2 separate regions of the Homo sapiens genome follow, and region 1 is linked to region 2. The links are contacts of gene promoters, found by promoter capture Hi-C in blood cells and fetal thymus (Javierre and others, 2016). All regions are on one chromosome and are shown on one strand. Each heading gives the region's core, a stretch centred on a gene start or on the middle of the fragment in contact. The rest is flanking DNA. Distances are from core to core; before and after follow the strand shown.

Region 1 (5,146 bases), core at 1,201-3,700, 430 kb after region 2:
TAGGAACATGGGGATTGCCTTTCACATCTTTGTATCCTCAGTACCTAATGTTCAGTCACCCTGTGGTCTTGTGTCGTATATACATTTAGCCTTCCTTAATTAAACCATATGTACTGGTCCCCGTCCCCCACCCCCAAATAGAGAGAAAGAAATTCCTTGAATACTACATTGCCAGTATCAAACCACACCTTGATATCCTCTGGGGAAAGGGAGGTATCAGTTGAAAAGAGAAAAGAGGTTAAAATCTAGGCATTAAAATGTGTAAGGCTTAGATGCTGGCAATTTAAGGTATGTTTTCCTGAGGTTAATTTTGATTGTGTGCAAATTTTACCTCATATCTAACTGTAGGATTTAGTCACCACATAAGATGGGATACCTCCATAAATCCTTCAGAAATGTTTGTGAAATTAAATAAAGCCTTATTGAAGACTCAGCTCTTGAGAGTCATCTACCTACCTAACAGTTATTCTTGAACAGAAGAGTCTTACTTTTCCCTATAAGGCAGTGTGATAGCCATCTGTATATTCATATAATTTATGTTGGCGCTTACTTCATTTAAAAATGTATTCCGTGAATGCAGTTGCCAGGCGGTGTGCTGATCAGAAACGTGTACCAATGGCCTCTTTTATAATTATAAGAGGAAGACCAACCTGAAACAGTCACACAAATGATTAATTTTAATTGTGGAGGAGTGCTGGGAAAGAAAAATAAAAGATGCAATGCAAGTGTTTACAAAGGAGCTTTGAGCTTGTTTGAAGTGGTCCTTGGGCACTTAAGCAAGGCTTAAAGAATGATGTGATTAGAAGTGGCTTAGCAATTCTAAAGAACACAGGGAAGGCGTGTGGCCAGAACATTGGTCCCTAGAGCACATCGCCTCCTGACATACCATTTCCTTAAGTTAATGTTTTACCACTATACATAGGCCCTCCCCTTTGTTTACCCAGATTTTTTTAATTTTAAGGATGTTTTTAATAACTTAGAATCCTGTAATTTGTTGAACAGTCCTGTATTCCCTTTACTTATATTCCTTGAGATTTTATAAAATATTTTTTACATGTCCCAAGTCTTGATTATATCTTTTTACCTCTTGTTAAGAAATACTTACTTTTCTATTTTTATGCTATATTTCATGTTTACTGTAGAAAACAAAAAAAGTAAAATTTTTCTTTATTCCTATCACTGCAGCTTATAAGCACTCTAAACATTTTGATCTATATTTTGCCAATCATATATTTTAGTTAAAATTGTTGTTGACATAATTGTAGATTCCTGTGCAGTTGAAAGAAATAATACAGAGCTGAGCGCGGTGGCTCACGCCTGTAATCCCAGCACTTTGGGAGGCCGAGGCAGGCAGATCATGAGGTCAGGAGTTTGAGACCAGACTGGCCAACATGGCGAAACCCTGTCTCTACTAAAAATACAAAAATTAGCTGGGTGTGGTGGCGGGCACCTGTAATCCCAGCTAGTTGGGAGGCTGAGGCAGGAGAATCGTTTGAACTCCGGAGGCAGAGGTTGCAGTGAGCCGAGATGGTACCATTCCACTCCAGCCTGGGCAACAAGAGCAAGACTGCATCTCAAAAATAATAATAATAATAATAAATAAACTTTAAAAATAAAACAGAGAGATCCCATGTGCGCTTTGCCTAGTTCCCCCATCCACTGCCCATAACATTTTGCAGAACTGCAGTACAGTATCACAACCACAATACTGACATTGATACAGTCTGCTCATCTTATTCATATTTCCCCAGTGTTACTCGTATCCACGTGTGTATGCATTGTGTTTTCAATACTCTTTTATTATAAAGCTGTTTTTAATGTGATTCAATTCTAGGTTGTTTTGTTCTGCCCTCAAAAAGCATTCCCTCTCCTAATCATATCTCCGTCATACCCTTGTATGTTTTCTTTAAACCTGTTTTAAGAAAGCAGCTACCTGTAAGAGAAATGAGATTGAAAACAGAATTGCCAATCTGCTTGTACTTTATAAGCCTGTTGATTGTTTAGATACGGTTTAGCCAGTTTATAGTTACCCTGGGTGCTGAAAGGTATGCTGGATGATACCTAACCAACAGAGAACCATTGAATGCCGTTCAAAATGGACTGAAGCATCAGCAATGTCTGAAAAAGGCCTGACAGTAATGTACATGTCAAATGGCCCGTAATTTAAGCAGAGTAGAGTAAGTAGAAGAATAAACATGGGGAAAGTTCCAGCAACAGAGGAGGCTTTGAGCTTTTGCTCTTCATCTTGAGTGGATGTTGTTCTCAGGTGGTAATAGGCCATCGAGCTTTCTCCACTGGCTGCCTCTCTGGGGAACAAATAACCGAAAAGATACTCAGCACCCTGGTTGGTACATAGGTGGTCAGTTGATTTATACTTCCTGGTTTTCAGTGTTGCTTGAATTTTCTAAATGGAAACACAGTACCTTTATAATCAGAAAACAATCCCGAGTTTTGATTTGAGGGTGTTGTAAAAAGTTAAAAAAAAAAAAACAGAAATGTGAAAAGGAAGTTGTGTTAGAGTATTTGGAGTTGAGAAAGCATGAAAAGGACAGAAGAGAAGCTGGTTGTCAGGTTGCATGGGGTAGCTACAAGCACACTGACCAGAAAGTCAGCTGGAAAAAAAATGTAGAAACAGGAGATAAAACGGCCAAGGGGCTATACAAGCAAACAGCAAGGACCTGAGAAGAAAAACTAGTTAGGTGTGACTGTCAGAGTGATGTGTACAGTGTGATCCTTTCTGTGTAAAAACAAGCAGTAAGAATTCGCTGTTTACGTTTGCGTGTGTTTGGAGAAGAGTGGGGAAGAGTAGGCACTGCCAGACTGTGAACACTGGTTAGGTTATTGTTATATCTTTGTATTATATACACTGGACATGTTATTTGTATAATATGAGAAGAAATTTTATAAATCATTAAATCTTTTGGCATTTAGGAACATTTGTGTTTTCTAATAGTTGCTTCTATACTATTATCTTTATTATATGCCCTTCATCTTCTCAGTGTTTGGCTGTTGTTGTGATTCCCTTTTGTGAGCAGTGTTGAAGTTAGCTAATATTCATTTCTTCTCCCTTCTTTCACCCTCCTCCAGAGTCTGATTTGAAGTATTCCTAGCTGCTACCTATAAAAGCAATAAGCAAGATTGTTTTACTTTTCACAAACTCGTCCTGTTCTGTGCCTCTGCCTCGGACATAGCTGTAGTATAGAGTGTTGTCTCCCTTACATCCTTCTATCTTAGACCTACTAGTAAATATTAATGCTCACTCTAAGTTCTTCTCAATTCTTTTTTTTTTTTTTTTTTTTTTTTTTGAGAAAGAGTTTCGCTCTTGTTGCCCAGGCTGGAGTGCAACGGCACGATTTCGGCTCACCGCAACCTCCACCTTCTGGGTTTAAGCGACTCTCCTGCCTCAGCCTCCTGAGTAGCTGGGATTACAGTCACGTGCCACCACCCCTGGCAAATTTTGTATTTTTAGTAGAGACAAGGTTTCTTCCATGTTGGCCAGGCTGGTCTCAAACTCCCGACCTCAGGTGATCCACCTGCCTCAGCCTTCCAAAGTGCTGGGATTCCAGGCGTGAGCCACCGCGCCCAGCCTCTTCTCTCAATTCTTCCTGAAGCTCTTTCTGCACTAGATTCCTCAGGAAGGGCTTGTGGGAACAATCTTCTGTGAATCAACAGTACATATTCATAATAGTTTGTCAGCAGCCTATTATTTTAAGGCCATTTGGTCTGTATATAAAAATGTTTGGATCACATTTTCTTTCTTTAAGGTAAATATGTTATTCTGTTGTCTTCTGGTATAAAGCATTGCTGTAAATGTTTGACAGTCTAATTATCTTTTGCTTATAAGTGACTTAGGGTTTTTTGTCTATGTGCCCAAAGGATTTTTTCCCTCTTTCTCTCTTTTTTTTTTTTTTTTTTTTTTTTTAAACAGACAGGATCTCACCCTGTTGCCCAGGCTTTAGTGCAGTGAGGCAGTCAGAGCTTACTGAAGTTTTGAACTCCTGGGCTTGAGGAACAAAGGATTTTTTTAACCTTTTAATTCAAAGTCTCATCATTTATGCAACCATGTCTTGGTGTTGGCTGTTTTGGGTTGTTCTCCCTCAAAAATCCATGTGCTCTTTCAATATGTAGTTTTAAATCTTTTTTTTTTAATTTCAGGAAAATCTTGAATTAGAGTTTTCCGTTTTTCGTCTGGTACATTGCTTGGGTTTCCTTCTTCAGGAACTCAGCCTGTTATGTGTATGTTTGATCTTCTTTGCCTGTCGTCTGTTTCTTTCACTTCCTCTCACTTTTTTAAACTTCATTTATTAAAAAAAAATTTTTTTTTCGAGACAGAGTTTCGCTCTTGTTGCCCAGGCTGGAGTGCAATGGCGTGATCTCGGCTCACTGCAACCTCCGCCTCCCAGGTTCAAGTGATTCTCCTGCCTCAGTCTCCCAAGTAGCTGGGATTACAGGCATGCGCCACCACGCCCAGCTAATTTTTTGTATTTTTAGTAGAGACAGGGTTTCTCCATGTTGGTCAGGCTGGTCTTGAACTCCTGACCTCGTGATCTGCCCGCCTCAGCCTCCCAAAGTGCTGGGATTACAGGCGTGAGCCACTGTGCCCAGCCTTATTAAAAATTTTAAAAACATACATTTAAACTTAACAGAAAAATTATGAGAGAGAAGGGGGTGGTGCCAGGCTTTTTTAAACAACCAGCTCTTACATGAACTCATAGAGTGATAACTCATTACCATGAGGACGGCATCAAGCCGTTCATGAAGGATCTGGCCCCGTGACCCAGACACCTCCTACTAGGTCCATTTTTAACATTGGGGATCACATTTCAACGTGAGATTTGGAGGGGGCAAAACTACAAACCATGTCACTCAGGGATTGGAGGAGCAAGTACCACCTATACTTTGGACTCAGGTAGAAAGGCAAAATATCCAGGAAATAAGCTGCTACCGTCCAGGGTTCAGCAGAGGTGCCCATCAGCCTGCCAAGTACTCAAGAGTCCAGCCTCTAGGGAGCTAATCATCATGGTGAGCTCTTCGAGGCACAGGGAGCTGGGAAGACAGTGCTTGCCACCCCTGCCTGAATAGTGTTTGCACAGAGAGTTCTGTTGTGTCTTGATTGGGTCCTCCTGCCACTGGGAATGCTGTGGAT
Region 2 (4,542 bases), core at 1,230-3,729:
ATTCATTCAACAAATATTTACTGAATGCCTACTTCATACCAGACACTTGTTTGATGGCTTCCCCTCATACCATCTCAAATCCAAAGCCATGTCTCTCCAACTCATCTCCTTAACAAGCCTTGCTTGCACATGAAGGCCTTTTATCCTGTTATTTCAACATGCCAAGCAGAGTCCCACCACAGGGCCTTTGCACTAACAGCCCACTCTCTCTCCTGCCTGTGACACTGTAGGGTTAGCTCTTTCCATTATTTGACTCAGCTGAAATGTCACTTTCCTGACCACCTCTCCAGACACTATCACATCACACAATTTCCTCCATAGCACTTACTGCTATCTGAAATTGTCTTATTTACTCCTTAACAGCCTTCTCTCCCTGACTTGAATGGAAGCTCCCGAAGGATACAGACTATGTCCATTTTGTTTGCTATCCACGATGGGACATAATAGGCCCTCAGTAAATATCTGTTGAATAAACAGACAAAAGAATTTTGGGAAGTCCATTTTAGGGCACCTCAAAGCCTGTCCTATGTTATCTAAACCATGCCAAGTGCTCTTGTATTCCACTAGACAGCAGCTGACATTTTATCTGATCACCATAGCCATTTATGAAGCACTCACTTTTTAACTGTCAGGGTCTGGAGAAGTTAGAACCGGGCAGCTGTTAACCCAGATTGTAGGTAGCCAACCGAGTGACTGCAAGCAGGGCTGAGCTGCAACAGCACCTTATTGCTGGCTACCACCAGCACACTGGGCCCCTTCGTTTATTACGACCCGGTAGGAGTGTTATTCTGGTGAGAAGTTTTACCCAGCAGTCTGGCCTGACTCAGAATCTCTCTTCTGGGAGTGCCTGGGGCAGCGTCATGGTAAATGAATTGACTCAGCACTGTTCCAGCTGAAACCAAAATCGAGTAAAAGGATTCATGGTCTCCGCTATTCTGCAAGAAGACCCCACTGTTTTAAACTCAAAAGGCAGCAGCTTGTGGTGGGTCACTTCAGTCAGATCCCCCACATTCAATTTCTTTTATTCCCACCCCAACCATCAGGCAAGTATGGCTCCTTGAGACCGCAGAGTAGCAACATTTATAAAGAATTCCCCTCACCCTATTTCCCATGGATCACCAATTCCTTCCCAACACTGCCGCTGCTGTGGCCTTAAATATGCCAATGATTGCTGTACTCAGGCTGGTGTCCCTGCAGCCCCACAGTGGGGAACACTGTGGCCCTGTTTGCTTCCTCCATCAGAGAGGTAACCCATTTTCACCCCATCTGAGAGAACCTCCTTGGCCAACTTCACTGCCAGGCACCTGAGGGTGCAGCCTCACCCAAGAGTTCCCATTTCATCTATTCACCTCCCTACTCCCATCAGCCAGTGGGGAACTTCTGAGCTGAACCCACATATCTGTCCCAATTATTAAAGGAGTCGATGAGAGTGAGCGTCTCCACAGAAGAGACACTTCTAGGATATGCTTCCCTCACTCAATTCAAAAAGAGGAGACTTTTCTCCTTTACAGGAAACATCTCCGGAACCCGACCTTTTCCACTCCCTCATTTCAGGGGCTTCCCTCAGTTGAATCCCCACTCCCAAAGAGACATCCTCGGGGCTCCCAATTCATCTGTTCTCCCTCATCCAATATCAGAGGCTTCCACCAACTGCCCCACTCGGACCTTGTCCCCTGAAACCTAACTTGAAGCAATCCATCTGTATCCTCGAACAGGAGACTGGTAATGATGGGGTCATTTCACTATCACCGCTATTAGGTCCCTCTGGCATCTGAATCCTTTTCCCTCCTCTCACTTATCATGCGGAGACCCCCTTCATTCTCCCCAAAAGCAGCTGCTCCAAGGCTCCTCCTTTCTAGTCAACATAGCTATTTCCTCAGCTAACCCCATCTCTAAAACTAACGCCGGAGCCGTTCCCTCAACCGATAGGGGATCCTCTCAAGTCACCCCCTCAGGATCCCGTTTCTTCCATCCAGCCTGAAGGGCTTCTCTGATGTCCCCTCCAGACATCCCAAGGCCCCTCTCAGCCGCACCCCTGGCACCCAGTATGGGACTTCCATCCGCTGTGGGGCGCCTCCTCTAGGGGACCTCTAGATCGCCCCTTAAGAGTCGCCAGCCCCGGTATCCTCAGGAGTGCCTCGGAGCTCGCTCCTCGCCCACTCCGGCTCCCCCAGACAGCACAGAGGGCCCTCACGCCTCCCGGGGGAGCCTCAGGGCCTCGCCGCGCCGCCCACAGGCCCCTCAGCCCCCCGCCCGTGCTTCCGGCCACCGCCTGCTCCTCCTCCCCCGGTCAGGCCGCGCCGGTGGCTGCCGCGGAGCCCAGCAGACAGAGGCGGCGCGGGGACCCTGGCTCCGCTGCAGGAGGCTTTGAGGGTCCCCGGCCCCCGGCCCAAGCCCATGCCCCCTCGGCCGGCCGGGCCCGGCGCCCCCGCTCACCCGAGCCCGTGGTGGCTGCCATCTTGCGTCGCTCTTGCTTGAAGGCCGGCCCCTTCTTCACCCCCCCCTTACCCGTCCCCCGGCCCTGATGCGCAGGCGCGCGCGCACGCACATACGCCGCCGCTGACGCCCGCCCCGGAGACCTGCACGACCCGTGGCCTGGAAGGCTCTTTTCCTTCCCTTTTAGAGAAAGGAAATATCTGCGTGCTCGAGGGCCCAGCAACCTGCAAGTCCCCACACATCGGGTGCGAGGGAGGTTGTGATGTGCTTAGTGAGAAGGGCAGGGGTGACTAGGCTTGGGAAGGCGCGATTGTGAAAGAAAAAGAAAATATAGCTTCAAACAAAAGCGCCGAATTCGCTTGGGGCTTTTTCCTGTCTAGTTCCTATCTAGATCCTCACCACATCTCCGCAAGGTCAGAATTAATGTGAAAAATGCAGCCGAGAGAGATCAAGCGATTTATCTAAACTCAGCTGTTAAGTGGCAGAGACAGGCAGAATTTTAACCTCCAGGTTCAAATTTTTTGAATCATCACCCTCCAGGTCAGATGATCTGGCTCCTAGGATTGATGCTCCCCGGCCAGAGAAGGCTTGGAGTGGGTGCAGCTAAATGATTTAGGGGCATTAAGGTGGCAGGGAAAGCATTTGCTAACCATCTACCCAATTCATTCATTCATTCATTCATTCATTCGTTCATTCATTCATTCAACCAAACAAACAAACATTAAGCACCTACTATGTACCAGACACTGTGCTAGGCGCTGGGGATGGATAGACATCTCTGAAGAAGCAAATCCCTGCTTTCAGGGACTTACATTCTAGTCGTAGACAGCAAGTAAATAAACAGGAAACTATAATTCTGATAGGGTAGAGATAAACCAAGACAAGAGCAGCAGAGGATGGTCAGGAAGGGCCTCCTAAGGTGGTCATATTTCAGCAGAGACCGTAACAATGAGGAGGTAGAGGGAACAGCTTGTGCAAAGGCCCTTGGGAAATATTTTTGCAAATAAATAAACCCAAGAAGGTACTCCTCCTTTATTATAAATTGTCTGAGAAGCCCTTATATGGATGTAGACACTGAGGCTGAGAGAGGTGAAGGGACTGGCTTAAGGTCACAGAGCAAAATACTGGCAGAAGGACCAGGACTCTAAACATAGAGGGACAAGGAAGCTGGAAGCCCTCACCCAGCACATCCAATTCATCACCTTTGTCTGATAGCAGTGCCTACTCTGCATCTCTCCACTCCGTTCACTTCTCCACTCAGGGCAAGCTGCCTTTATCTCCCACTTGGAAGACCCCAGCAGCTTCCATTCTCTCCCCTATGGCCCATTCTCCATATAGACCAACATCTGCTCAAAACACCCTCCAGCTAAAGCCTTCAGTGGCTCCCCATTCCCTCTGGATAAAATACAAACTTTACAAGTTGAGCGACCATAGAATTATCACCTAATGAGGACACACATCAGATTAAAAGGGGACTTATTATAATCTCACCAGGACAAGTGGAAACCAGGGCTCTCCAGGGCAAAGCAGGATGCCTGGACACCCTGTGCACCAGGCTCTGCACCCAGGGCAGGGACGAGGATGGGGTGGTCAGATTTAACGGGGCTTTCACTCAGGTCCTGACTCCGCACTTGCACAGCGCTGCAGGTGAGTGACTCCTTAAAATCTGCACCCTAGGGCAGGGCATGGTGGCTCACACCTGTAATCCCAGCACTTTGGGAGGCCGAGGTGGGCAGATCACCTGAGGTCAGGAGTTCCAGACCAGCCTGGTCAACATGGTGAAACCTCGTCTCTACTAAAAATACAAAAATTAGCGGGGCGTGGTAGCACACACCTGTAATCCCAGCTACTCGGGAGGCTGAGGCAGGAAAATCGAGCGAACCCGGGAGGCAGAGGTTGCAGTGAGCTGAGATTGCACCATTGCATTCCAGCCTGGGCAACAGAGAGAGATTCAGTCTCAAAAAAAAAAAAAAAATCTGCACCCTAGGTACCCCACTTGCCTCACCATAGCCTTGGCACAGCCTGCGCCTCTGAGACTTTCTGTACCTCTGCGGCGACACTGGCCCTTTGCAAGCCCCCTGGAACACATGCCCTCTCCCACTTCAG

Evidence for each region. The method cuts DNA at HindIII sites, captures the fragments that hold promoters and counts their contacts. A CHiCAGO score of 5 or more calls a contact.
Region 1: a fragment that was not itself captured here is called in contact with the fragment with the promoter of UBE2V1 in region 2 in 1 of 17 cell types (monocytes); the score reaches 8.3 in monocytes.

What each region holds. Positions count from the first base shown.
Region 1 is chr20:50,535,748-50,540,893 of GRCh38, forward strand. The region is part of intron 1 of PTPN1 (protein tyrosine phosphatase non-receptor type 1); the gene reads left to right. Among named protein-coding and RNA genes, the nearest start is that of PTPN1, 28 kb to the left of the region's middle. RefSeq lists an enhancer at 4,788-5,146. The HindIII fragment of the contact is 7,346 bases long and covers 1-5,146 here.
Region 2 is chr20:50,110,671-50,115,212 of GRCh38, forward strand. UBE2V1 (ubiquitin conjugating enzyme E2 V1) reads right to left here and starts at 2,480. Exons shown (of 4, transcript NM_001032288.3): 1 at 2,437-2,480. The coding sequence starts at 2,458. The region is part of intron 5 of PEDS1-UBE2V1 (PEDS1-UBE2V1 readthrough); the gene reads right to left. RefSeq lists a silencer at 2,008-2,547 and enhancers at 2,718-2,827, 2,832-3,399. The HindIII fragment of the contact is 8,664 bases long and covers 1-4,542 here.